Regions from separate parts of the Homo sapiens genome. Here region 2 is linked to region 1. The links are contacts of gene promoters, found by promoter capture Hi-C in human tissues and cell types (Jung and others, 2019). All regions are on one chromosome and are shown on one strand. Each heading gives the region's core, a stretch centred on a gene start or on the middle of the fragment in contact. The rest is flanking DNA. Distances are from core to core; before and after follow the strand shown.

Region 1 (6,333 bases), core at 1,113-3,612:
TAAAATCTGAGCAAAGGGTCAAGGGAATCTTCAATTTTTAGATGTTTGGTTGAAGTTCAGGTCCCAACCAGGAACTTACAACCAGCACGTGAAGTAGCGGCAGCCTTGTGGAACTGAGCCCCCAACCTGTGGGATCTGATGCTAACTTCAAGTAGACAGTGTCAACTTGACTGAAATTACGGATCACCCAGGCGGTGTCTGACGAATTGCTTGTTGGTGGGAAGAAATCCCCACACATTTTGTTCATCAGATATGAAGCATTCTGTGTTGAGTGTTCACTATTGTGTTGACTGCAAGAGTAGGAAAAACACTTTGGTTTTCCTGCTATCTTTTACACTCGCCCACACCCTACCCCATCCCAGGAAAAGGAAAGTGGGTGACCCACACCTGAATGACTCAAGTCACTGACCTGTGCCTGAATAGGGAATGTGAGTGGAAGCTAAAGTCTGATGCCAAGAATTATAAAATGCACCAGCCTTACAGACAGGAGTTTTGCATATCCATTTTCATCTGTATTTTTAAAGTATATTTCATATTATCAAATTATAAATAGATAAATCAATGTCACAACTTAATCATAATATCCAATCAACTCACCGTTCATCTGCACCCAGGGTTCCCTCTTTTCTGGGTACTGTGTTTCCCTCCCTCATTCTGTACGTATCTCTCATTCTCACCTTCTTTCTCTAGCTTTTTTCCCCCTTTATTTTTCCCCTAAGATTCTGCTCATTTTGAGCCCCTCTCTTCTCCTGATGTTTCTCCCCTTCTTCCTTCTATTCCTTCTCTTCCACCTGTTCTGCTCCATTCTGGCAACTTGTTTCACCCCTCTTCCAAACTTTCTGCTCAATCTTTGATCATCCCATTCTCCACCTATTTGTCTCTTTTTTTTTTTTTTCCCTGAGACGGAGTTTTGCTCTTGTCGCCCAGCCTGGAGTGCAATGGCGCAATCTCAGCTCACTGCAACCTCCGCCTCCCGGGTTCAAGCAATTCTCCTGCCTCAGCCTCCTGAGTAGCTGGGATTACACGCGCGCGCTGACGCCCGGCTAATTTTTGCATTTTTAGTAGAGATGGGGTTTCACCATGTTGCCCACGCTGGTCTCAAACTCCTGACCTCACGTGATCCACCCACCTTGGCCTCCCAAAGTGCTGGGATTACAGGCGTGAGCCACTGTGCCCGGTCTTGCCTCTTCCCCTGACTCTACTCCCCCTCTGCTCTCTCTGTTAAATCCCTTCTTTTCTGTTACACCCCCTTGTCCCCACTCTCTGGCACCCTGAGATCCCAGGCCTCCACCTGCTGTGGTTCTCCCTCTGCTCTCGTTGTCACCAGCTGACTCCTCTTGCTGTCCCAGCACCACGCTGCTCTGTCTGCCCTGGCTCCAAATCCCTCCCCCTCTCCCCCACTCTCAAACTGAGGAACTTCCCACTTTGCTGCCCCTCTCACTATCTTGCTGTCCTTCATCTCTCCGGAGATGGAACTTTTCTCTGCATTTCTCCAGTTGCTTTTTTCCCCCTGCTACTTTCTCGGCTTCATTCGCTGTCTCTGCAAATCCTCCATCCACTCTCTACTTTGCCATCTGCTTACGGCTCTCCCTCAATCTTCTTTTCTCCTTCAAAATTTTTCTCTTTCTTCTCCCTCGCTCTCCGTCTCTCTTTCTGCACACATTCACATGGAAGGAATTGGGATCCGATGTCCACAAGCAGAACACCTTTTCAGTGGGGTGTTATTTGGCCCGCAAGAACACTGGATGTCAAGAGACAGAGTAAGTCACCTCCCCACACGCAGGGTTAGGAGAAGCGGTGTCTGGGAAGAGGAGGCCTGGGGAGTAGCGGGGCCCCGTATCAAGGAGGGTAAAGGTAGGGTCTGGATCAAGAGATGGGTGGCGTCTGCAGAATCCCAGCACTGGGCAGAAGACGCGGCTTCTCCTGGATTGAGATTGGAGCGCTGTGCTCCAGGGCCAACAAAGGCGAGGCTTGGGGGACCGCATAGACCGGAATCCGCCTAGCGGGGGAGGACTTTACGCTGTGCGGGGCGGATGTAAGCATCACTGAAGGACTTGAAACAGGAAAACTCCGCGACAGGAGGTGACTACATGGCCCTGTGGCAGAAGGACGGGGGACAGGACCCGCCGCCGAGCGATTTAAACACACAGGGAAGCGACCGCCTGACTCTCACGGAGACGCCTGAATTTGGTCGGGGTAGAGGGAGCGGTGCGAGGATTTCAAGGTCTGTGTGGCCCCTCAGATCCCGGGTACAGAAGCGCGGGGGAGTTGGGAAGCGCAGATTAATTTACACAAAGGGAAACTCACGCGCCGCGGCGTGACCTTCACTCCACGCGATCCGCTTCCGGGTTTGTGGGAAACTGCGCGCGCAGCGGAGGGGTCCGAGCGGGGCGGGGGCGGGGGCGGGGGCGGGGGCGGGGGCGGGGGCGGGGGCGGGGGCGGGGGCGGGGGCGGGGGCGGGGGCGGGGGCGGGGGCGGGGCGGAGTGGGGCTTGCGCTTCCCTCCGCCTCGCTTCCAGTGCCTCTGTTTTCCGGGTTTTGCCGGGGAGACCTGTCAAGGAGACTGGAGCAACTCAGCTGTCTCGGAACTGTACTCTTGCCGGGACTGAGCAAAGTCGGCTAATGATTAGATCCAGGAAAATTCCTGCTATTAAAGTTAATCTTAAGCCGACCGTGCGGTCGGGCACCTGTAGTCCCGGCTACCCCGAAGACTGAGGCGGGAGGATCGCTTGAGCCCAGGAGTTCGAGTTTACACTGAGTTATGACGGCCACTGCACTCCAGCTTGGGCGACAGAGACTCAGTCTCTCAAATAAATACATAAAAAACTAAATTTAGCAATTTAATTAAGCCCTGGGATTGTCTGTGAAAGCGACGCAAGTTAATACATGAACTGCAAAGCCCTGCCTGGGCAGAATGTGCAATTTCATGCTGACGGCCCACAAAGCAGAATAGAAATCCTCTCCTTTTCTATTCCCTGTTCTTTCGGGAGGGACAGAGGTAACCCTGTGCTCAGCTCCAGAGAGTTTTCTAGTGACAGCACCAGGGGCATGGAGGGCTAAGGCCAGTGAGAATTTAGGTCACCAATTGTTGGTTTTAAAAAAGCATTAACCGGGCGAGGTGGCTCACACCTGTAATCCCAGCACTTTGGGAGGTCAAGGCAGGTGGATCATTTGAGGTCAGGAGTTCGAGACCAGCCTGGCCAACACGGTAAAACCCCATCTCTACTAAAAATACAAAAATTAGCTGGGCATGGTGGCATACGCGTGTAATCCCAGCTACTCAGGAAGCTGAGGCAGGAGAATCGCTTGAACCTGGGAGGCGGAGGTTGCAGTGAGCTGAGATTGTGCCACTGCACTCCAGACCAGGCAACAGAACAAGACTCTGTCTCAAAAAAAAAAAAAAAAAGTCAAAAAATATGTTAATTTAACATTCTCAGGATTTTAAAACTACAAAATGCTGATGAAAGAAATCAAAGACACCCAGATAGAGACATATACAATATCAATTTATTGATAAACTCAACATAGAAAAAAATGTGAAATTACCCCAAATTGATACACAGGGTTAATATATTTACTATCAAGGCACTTCGTAGATACTGACAAGATTATCCAAACAATTATGTAGAAAAGCAAAAAACAAAACAAACCAACAGAAATCCCAAAAAACCTGGAATAGCTCAAACATCTGAAAAAAAAGATAGAGCAGCATGCTCCCGGGAGGTGAAGGTTGCAGTGAGCTGAGATCACTCCATTGCACTCCAGCTTAGGCAACAAGAGTGAAACTCCATCTCAAAAAAATAAATAATAAAATAAATAAATAAAATAAAGATAAAGGGTTGGAATCACTTCACGTTACTTCAAGTCCTCTAATATAGTGAAAGCATTTTTTCCTTTTTCATATTTACAATAAAACGTTTATACCTGCCATTGTCTTGTGCATACTCTTGTCAAAAAATATTGTCTCCAAACAACAGTCTCATTTTTGTGTCCCCTAAAATTTTCACTAGAGTGACATTCGGAAAAAATGTATTAAGCATAGCATCTGGCCGGGCATGGTGGCTCATGCCTGTAATCCCAACACTTTGGGAGGCCGAAGCGGGTGGATCACCTGAAGTCAGGAGTTCAAGACCATGCCTGGCCAACATGGTGAAACCCCATCTCTATTACAAATACAAAAATTAGCCAGGTGTGGTGATGGTGCATGTCTGTAATCCCAGCTATTCGGGAGGCCGAGGCAGGAGAATCACTTGAGCCTGGGAGGCGGAGGCTGCAATGAGCCAAGATCACACCGCTGCACTCCAGCCTGGGTGACAGAGCAAGACTCTGTCTCAAAAAAAAAAACAAACAAGCATAGCATCTGGATGCAATGTACAGAAAAAGAAAAAAGTAAAAAAAAAATATTATATATGTGTCTATACGTGCATATATAAACACAAAATATAATTTTATTAGAGTTGAAAATGAACCATGGAATATATTGCTTGATGCTGTAACGGGAAAATGACATTTCCATAGCTTTTGGAAAAATGCTCTTCTAGTAATATCATATTTATAACAAATATATTTTAATCATATTATATAATACATTATATTTATTATAAACCCACACACTAATTTTCATTGTCTACTATAAAAAGTATCTTAGGCAATTTTACTAAAAAAATTTCACAAGTGTTTTCAACAATCATATTGTGCAATGAGACCTGTATCTGTAACTATAAAAGGAACGTAAGATATTATCATGAAGAAAATCAGAGTCTTTCCTAACCAAGATGGCAGGAGCTTCCAGAGGAAGCTAGAGTTGTCCTAGAGTTGACTGCATTTTGTGATGTCTGAACACCAACGCCTTTTACACCTCTGCACTCCCTCTTCCTATTCTGCCCATCTGGTCAACTGAAAAATCCTCAGTGCCCACTCCTTTGGCACCAGCTGAAAGTTCAAACCACAAGTGGGCACCCCTGCCCAAGCCCTATCCCTTAACAATCATCATACCCCAAGCCAGTCACCTATGCCGATTCCCTAGTCATATTTGGACCAACCGGGGAAGTCTACCCTGCTCTCCCCAGAAAGCCTCATTATGGAGTAAACATTTTGAGATCACATTAGTGAATGGCATCATCATTCTCAATACCCAAACCAAACTTCAGGTGGATGTCAAAGCAGTTCCAGAAGAATGATCAAAAGTTCAAATTACCAAAAAGGTTATAAGGGTGAAAATGTGAAGTTTCTAGTTAATCTACCAAAGCAAAACGAAATTCCCAATCTGTGTGTTCATCCTCAAGAGAACATTTCTGAACATTAATATTTTTTCAAATTATGTCACTGAGCGCTACGAGGTCAACAGCAAGATTGTTACAATATTTTCATCCTGAAGTCCACACTTTGTCCTATTTTCCATATTACTGTATCTGTATTTTCGCTTCCTGAAAATGAAGGTGCCTGCCATGGGTCTTACTTGGCACACAAGAAAAAGGCACACAGAAACATAATACAGTGCATGTTTATCAACAGTGATGAACATTGAGGGCATATGATGATGAAGCTGCACTGTTATGTGATTTTCACTTTACCCACAAAAGCATCTTAGGGCAGAGTAGAGAGGTAGGCCAAGTGTGGTGGCTCATGCCTATAATCCCAGCACTTTGGGAGGCCGAGGTGGGCAGATCACCTGAGGTCAGGAGTTCGAGACCAGCCTCACCAATATGGAGAAACCCTGTCTCTACTAAAAAAACAAAATTAGCTGGGCATGGTGGCACATGCATGTAATCCCAGCTACTCGGGAGGCTGAGGCAGGAGAATCACTTGAACCTGGAAGGCGGAGGTTGCGGTGAGCCGAGATCACACCATTGCACTCCAGCCTGGGAAACAAGAGCGAAACTCCATCTCAAAACAAAACAAAACAAACAAAAAACAAAAACAAAGAGTAGAGAGAATAACTTAAGTACTAAGTATTATTACCCAAAATCATACTTACCCAAGTGTATATACCCAAAAGTGCATGTCATTTCATTTCACACACAAAATTGTTGTGGATGCTTCAACCTTAAAAATCCTGGCCAGGCGCCGTGGCTCATGCCTGTAATCTTAGCACTTCGGGAACCCGAGGTGGCTGGATCACCCGAGGTCAGGACTTCGAGACCGGCCTGGCCAACATGGTGAAACCCCATCTCTACTAAAAATACAAAAAAATTAGCCGGGTATGGTGGTGCATGCCTGTAATCCAGCTACTTGGGAGGTGTAGACAGGAGAATCACTTGAACCCGGGAGGCAGAGGATGCAGTGAGCCAAGATCGTGCCATTGCACTTCAGCCTGAGTGACAGAGCAAAACTT
Region 2 (6,333 bases), core at 2,248-4,747, 250 kb after region 1:
TGTGAGCTTATTTAGGAATAAAATCTAAGTGACCTAGGAAAATGGAAGGTGTGCATAGCTTCCATTTTCCTGAACATGTGGCTGAACTGGCATTAACTGCAGATTTGGCATTAGGGAGTTGTCTGATAAGGTCTTGAGTCGTTGGGTGCCATGTTTGATAACTTCACCTCATCTCAGAATATACAATATCCTTCTGCATTTTCACCTCCAATTCTTGCATACTTATATTGCTTTTATTTTTTGTAATTACATAAATTACTCATGGAATCCAAAGGGAAAAAATTCTTTTTTTTTTTTTTTTTTTGGTTTTTGTTTTTTGAGATGGAATCTCACTCTGTTGCCCAAGCCGGAGTGCAGTGCGTGATCTTGGCTTACTGCAACCTCCACGTCCTGGGTTCAAGGGATTCTTCTGCCTCAGCTTCCTGAGTAGCTGGGATTACAGGTGTGCACTTGCATGCCTGGCTAGTTTTTGTATTTTTAGTAGAGATGGGGTTTTGCCATCTTGGCCAGGCTGGTCTCGAACTCCTGACCTCAGGTGATCCACCCGCCTCGGCCTCCCAAAGTGCTGGGATTACAGGCGTGAGCCACTGCACCTGGCCTCACAGGGAAATAAATTCTGATGATGAAGTACACACTGGTTAAAAAAGTAAATTTCCGGGCCGGGCACAGTGGCTCACGCCTGTAATCCCAGCACTTTTGGAGGCCAACCAGGCGGGTCACCTGAGGTCGGGAGTTCAAGACCAGCCTGACCAACATGGAGAAACCGTATCTCTACTAAAAACACAAAATTAACTGGGTGTGGTGGCGCATGCCTGTAATCCCAGCTACTCAGGAGACTGAGACAGGAGAATCGCTTGAATCCGGGAGGTGGAGGTTGTGGTGAGCCGAGATCATGCCATTGCACTCCAGCCTGGGCAACAAGAGCGAAACTCCGTCTCGAAAAAAAAAAAAAAAAAAAAGGTAAAAAAAGTAAAAGTAGATTCCCTCTTCATAACTTTCTTCCTAATCCTCTTATACTGCTTCAACAAATGTTTGGTAGCACATACTTGCTGTCACTGAAATGTGTGCATCTCTGTATATATGTGTATTTATAAATCCATGTGTTTTATGTATGTGTCTGCATATATAAACACATTTATTATGACTTCTTTTGCTTCAGTGGAATCACATTCCACCTGTTGGTCACCTTAGATCAAGCTTGTACAACCTGTGGCCTGTGGGCTGCATGCAGCTCAGGATGGCTTTGAATGTGGCCCAACACAAATTTGTAAATTTTCTTATAATGAGAATTTTTTGCATTTTTTTCCAGCTATCGTTAGTGTTAGTGTATTTTATGCATGGCCCAACGCATTTCTTCTTCCAGTGTGGCCCAGGGAAGCCAAAAGATTGGACACCCCTACCTTAGGTGGTGTAGTTTTAGAATATAAAGGAATAATCACTGCAATTAATTGAAGAATATTGACTGTATAAAATTCCATTTGTCTAAAGTCATACATGAAAACATTGTTAAACTATGTAAAGTATTTAGATGAGTGCCTGCCACATAGAAACTGATACATGGAGTCCTTTGTGCCTTAAATCTTTGCCAATACTTAAAAATATGACATTATCAAATTATACAATTTTCAATGATCCAATATTCTTTTGTCTTATTTTGCATTTTCCTCATCACAGGTGAGGTTGAAAGCCTTCTTGTGTATTTCTTGGCCAACTGGATTTTTTTCTCTTGTGAAATGCCTGACTTTATGATTTTTACATTAAAAAAACTTTTTTCTTACTGGCTAATGAGTTGCTTATATCTACTATATATTGATCTTTTGTTTATTGCAAAGTTTTTTTTAGCCTGTCATTTTTCTTTCAGCTTTGTTTATGATCTGTTTTTCAATGTAGAAATTAAATTTTTTTTCTCATAAAATTTGTCCCTTTTTTTTCCTTTATGGCTTTTAACATGAATATATTTCGTATTTGCTTCTGCTTCCACAGGTTCTTTTGCTTTCTGGTAAGGACTTTAAACAGGAAAAACTTATTTTTGAGTATGAAATTAGGTAGAAACCTACATTTTTTTTCAAACAGATTTATTTCTCGTGTGAAATAATTCCCGAATGTGATGAGATCAGCAGCATTAAGAATTTGCAGACTTCAGCAAGTCTGTTCTTTTCTCTGTGTATTAATCTCTGTGATTATATGGGGATAGATTATCCCATCAATTTGTGAAGGGGTGGGTTGCCCCTCCACACTTGTGGGTGTTTCTCGTAAGGTGGAACGAGAGACTTGGAAAAGAAAAAGACACAGAGACAAAGTATAGAGAAAGAAATAAGGGGACCCGGGGAACCAGCGTTCAGCATATGGAGGATCCCGCCAGCCTCTGAGTTCCCTTAGTATTTATTGATCATTCATGGGTGTTTCTCCGAGAGGGGGATGTGGCAGGGTCACAAGACAATAGTGGGGAGAGGGTCAGCAGACAAACACGTGAACAAAGGTCTTTGCATCATAGACAAGGTAAAGGATTAAGTGCTGTGCTTTTAGATACGCATACACATAAACATCTCAGTGCTTTACAAAGCAGTATTGCTGCCCGAATGTCCCACCTCCAGCCCTAAGGCGGTTTTCCCCTATCTCAGTAGATGGAGCATACAATCGGGTTTTATACCGAGACATTCCATTGCCCAGGGACGGGCAGGAGACAGATGCCTTCCTCTTGTCTCAACTGCAAGAGGCATGCCTTCCTCTTATACTAATCCTCCTCAGCACAGACCCTTTACGGGTGTCGGGCTGGGGGACGGTCAGGTCTTTCCCTTCCCACGAGGCCATATTTCAGACTATCACATGGGGAGAAACCTTGGACAATACCTGGCTTTCCTAGGCAGAGGTCCCTGCGGCCTTCCGCAGTGTTTGTGTCCCTGGGTACTTGAGATTAGGGAGTGGTGATGACTCTTAAGGAGCATGCTGCCTTTAAGCATCTGTTTAACAAAGCACATCTTGCACCGCCCTTAATCCATTTAACCCTGAGTTTGACACAGCACATGTTTCCGAGAGCACGGGGTTGGGGGTAAGGTCATAGATTAACAGAATCTCAAGGCAGAAGAATTTTTCTTAGTACAGAACAAAATGGAGTCTCCTATGTCTACTTCTTTCTGTACAGACACAGTAACAATCTGATCTCTCTTGCTTTTCCCCACAAATTTGCACCTAGCTCTTTCCTGCCTCAAGTTCCTACTACCATGTGATTATAAGTCATGTTGAGACAGGAGAGTGGCAGTTTAGTTGACAAGAGGGTCTCAATTTATTTTCCAGTGGCATTCAGGGCTAGGCCATACCATACAATTTGCCAATTGCCACAGAATCAGGACATTGAAGACATTATTCTGCACTTTTCTTGCTTCTTTTGTTTCTGTGGAAGTCAGTTGTTAGGACATTTTATTTTTCTTTTGATGGTAATGCATCTTTTCCTTCTATTAACAGTTGTTTGCATAATGTTATATGTGCATCTGATGTTCAATAGTTTCAGTCTGATGTGTCTAGATGCAGATTTTCTGCTTGGCTTTGTTGATTTATTAAATTTGAGTTATAGGATATTTAATCAGTTCTGAAAATTTCTCAGTCAGATATTTGGAAATTGCTTCTCTTATTTGAATATAATATTTCAAAAACTATGTATAGGCATATGTTAGGCCTCACTCTGTCTTCCATATTTAGTAAAGTCTCCTTCATACTTTCTGTCACTTTGTGTCTCTGCTTCATTTTTCAGTTATTTTAATTTTTTGAGATAGGGTCTCACTCTGTCACCCAGGCTGGAGTACAGTGGCATGATCACAGCTCACTGCAGCCTCAACTTCCTGGGCTCCAGCAATCCTCCCACCTCACCCTCCCAAGTAGCTGGGATCACAGGTGTGTGCCACCGCACCTGGTTAATTTTTGTCTTTTTGGTAGAGATAGGATTTCACCATGTTTCCCAGGCTGGTCTTGAACTCCTGAGCTCAAGCTATCCGCCTGCCTCAGCCTCCCAAAGTGCTGGGATTACAGGTGTGAGCCACCACACCTGGCCCTGTTATTTTTTTTACTGTGAATTCCAACTCACTAATTATCTCTTCAGTGTATTTAATATAACCTTTCTGTTAATAGACACATATACCTGTGACTGTATACGTATATATACATAAACATATATTTATATGTATGTGTGCATACATATATATTTAATGTATGTTTCCAAGAATAAGTTTTCCCAATTTGGTTACTCTTTAATAGTTTCTCATGTTTTCTGTACATTTCTATTTTTTAATCCATTTAACAATTAAACATGAATGTAGTATCCTGTGGTTCTAGCATCTGAAGTCTCTCTATGTCTTATGCTAGTATTAGCTGGGAAGGCTTAACAGTGAATGAAACAATTTATATCAGATATCTAGATGTCAGTAGCATATACTTTCTTGACTGGTCAATAGATACCAAAATTAAAATTTATACATAAAACCCGCTTTTACTGAGAGGATTTGATATAAAACCTTAATTTTTGTTGAGCAAATGGGGCACTGTGCAATTATAGAATACTTGGAGATTCTCTGGCAATATTAAAAAATACAATAGACTTATAGATGGATGCAGTCTATATGTTTAATGTGAGCGGGACAACTTCCCTTCACTTTCTTTTCATGTCAGTAAAAGAGAAACACTTCCTATTAAGCAAGGCTCTGTTTTCTTACAGGAATTGCTGACACTGGAGGATGTTACTGTGGAGTTCACCTGGGAGGAGTGGCAGCTCCTGGGCCCTTTTCAGAAGGATTTGTACCGGGATGTGATGTTGGAGATCTACAGCAACCTGCTATCAATGGGTGAGGACAGCTGCTCTGTGTCACCTGGAGGGTGCCCAGTCTGTGGCCTTTGCTTTCTCAGTTGCTTACCCTTGGAAGTTACTGCAGTGCTCTGAATATTAGATTTTTGGCACATCCTCTGGCTTCTGATAAAAGGATATACCGTCACCCCTCAGTGTCCAAGAGGGATTGGTTTCACAACTTTCCATGGATATGAAATCCACAGATGCTCAAGTCTCATATAAAATGGCATTGTATTTGCATATAACCTACACACACCTCCTCCTGAATACTTTAAATCATCTCCAAATTATGCCTGATACTTAATACAATGTAAATGCTATGTACATAGTTGTTATACTATATGTTTTAATTAATTTATTTATTTATTTTTTCTTTAGAGACAGTGTCTCGGTCTTTCACTCAGGCTGGAATGTAGTGGTGCCTTCATGGCTCGCTGCAGCCTTGAACTGGGTTCAAGTGTTCCTCCTGCCTCAGCCTCCTGAGGAACTATGCCTACAGGTGCAAACCACCATGCTTGGCTAATTTTTTTTTTTTTTTGTAGAGATGGAGTCTATGTTGCCCAGGCTGGTCTCCCACTCCTGGCTTCAAATGTTGGTTTCATGTCAGCCTCCCATAGTGCTCGGATTATAGGCAAGAGCCACTGCACTTTGTATTTTTTTTTATTATTGTATTTTTTATTGTTTTTTAAAAAATATTTTCAATCCATGGTTGGTTGAATCCCTGGATGTGAAATTTTCAGATATTAAGGTCTGACTGTAATCTGCCCTTTCCTGAGAGAGAAGCCTCTACTTTCAGATGTGAAAACTGTCTAGTTACTTAAATGTAACATTCTCTCACATTACATACCCCAGCCCAATCCAGTGTGTCTGTCTTCTATTATTTCCCGTAAACAGGTTATCAAGTCAGCAAACCAGATGCACTCTCCAAGTTGGAACGAGGAGAAGAACCATGGACAATGGAAGATGAAAGGCACAGTCGAATCTGTCCAGGTATGTGAGAAGCAGCAAGATGCGTAAGTAATATTATAGTCAGTGAAAGAAGGCTCTGTGGGTGTCTGAGGACACAGAAGCAGTGCCTACATTAGGAATGGGAATCGTTTTCCCTCCACAAGAAACCCTTCCCATCTTATTTTAAGGTTGCATTCTCCTTTAGTACCATACATCTGTCCTGTCTGTGCTGGTGTTGTATTGAATGTCCTCTACCTATGGAGTTCTCTTCTTAAAAGTCTCTACTATTTTTGTTTACTGTTTACCTAGAAAGGACTGTTTTATGTCCTACATCAGTTCTAGACCAAACCAGGTCATAACTTATGTCTGTCTCAGAGTACTTCCTTTGTACATTTGATTTCTACTTTTCCTTTAGTTCATCTTAGACGGTAGCATTGTATTCATTTCCCTAATGTGTTTTTCCCATTATAGATTTGTTTTTTCAACAGCTTAGATAATTTACATACCATACAATTTTCCAATTTAAAGTTTATTTTTCAGTGCTTTGTAGT

What was found. Contacts are between HindIII fragments. The study calls those that stand out against the background at their distance.
Region 2: a fragment that was not itself captured here is called in contact with the fragment with the promoter of ZNF480 in region 1 in 1 of the 25 tissues and cell types used here (small bowel).

What each region holds. Positions count from the first base shown.
Region 1 is chr19:52,293,198-52,299,530 of GRCh38, reverse strand. ZNF480 (zinc finger protein 480) reads right to left here and starts at 2,362. Exons shown (of 5, transcript NM_144684.4): 1 at 2,308-2,362. ZNF766 (zinc finger protein 766) reads right to left here. Exons shown (of 4, transcript NM_001010851.3): 4 at 3,485-6,333. RefSeq lists enhancers at 2,131-2,180, 2,251-2,300. The HindIII fragment of the contact is 12,331 bases long and covers 1-6,333 here.
Region 2 is chr19:52,039,979-52,046,311 of GRCh38, reverse strand. It overlaps ZNF432 (zinc finger protein 432), which reads left to right. Exons shown (of 5, transcript NM_014650.4): 3 at 4,706-4,832; 4 at 5,729-5,824. Among named protein-coding and RNA genes, the nearest start is that of ZNF432, 5.7 kb to the left of the region's middle. The HindIII fragment of the contact is 8,925 bases long and covers 1-6,333 here.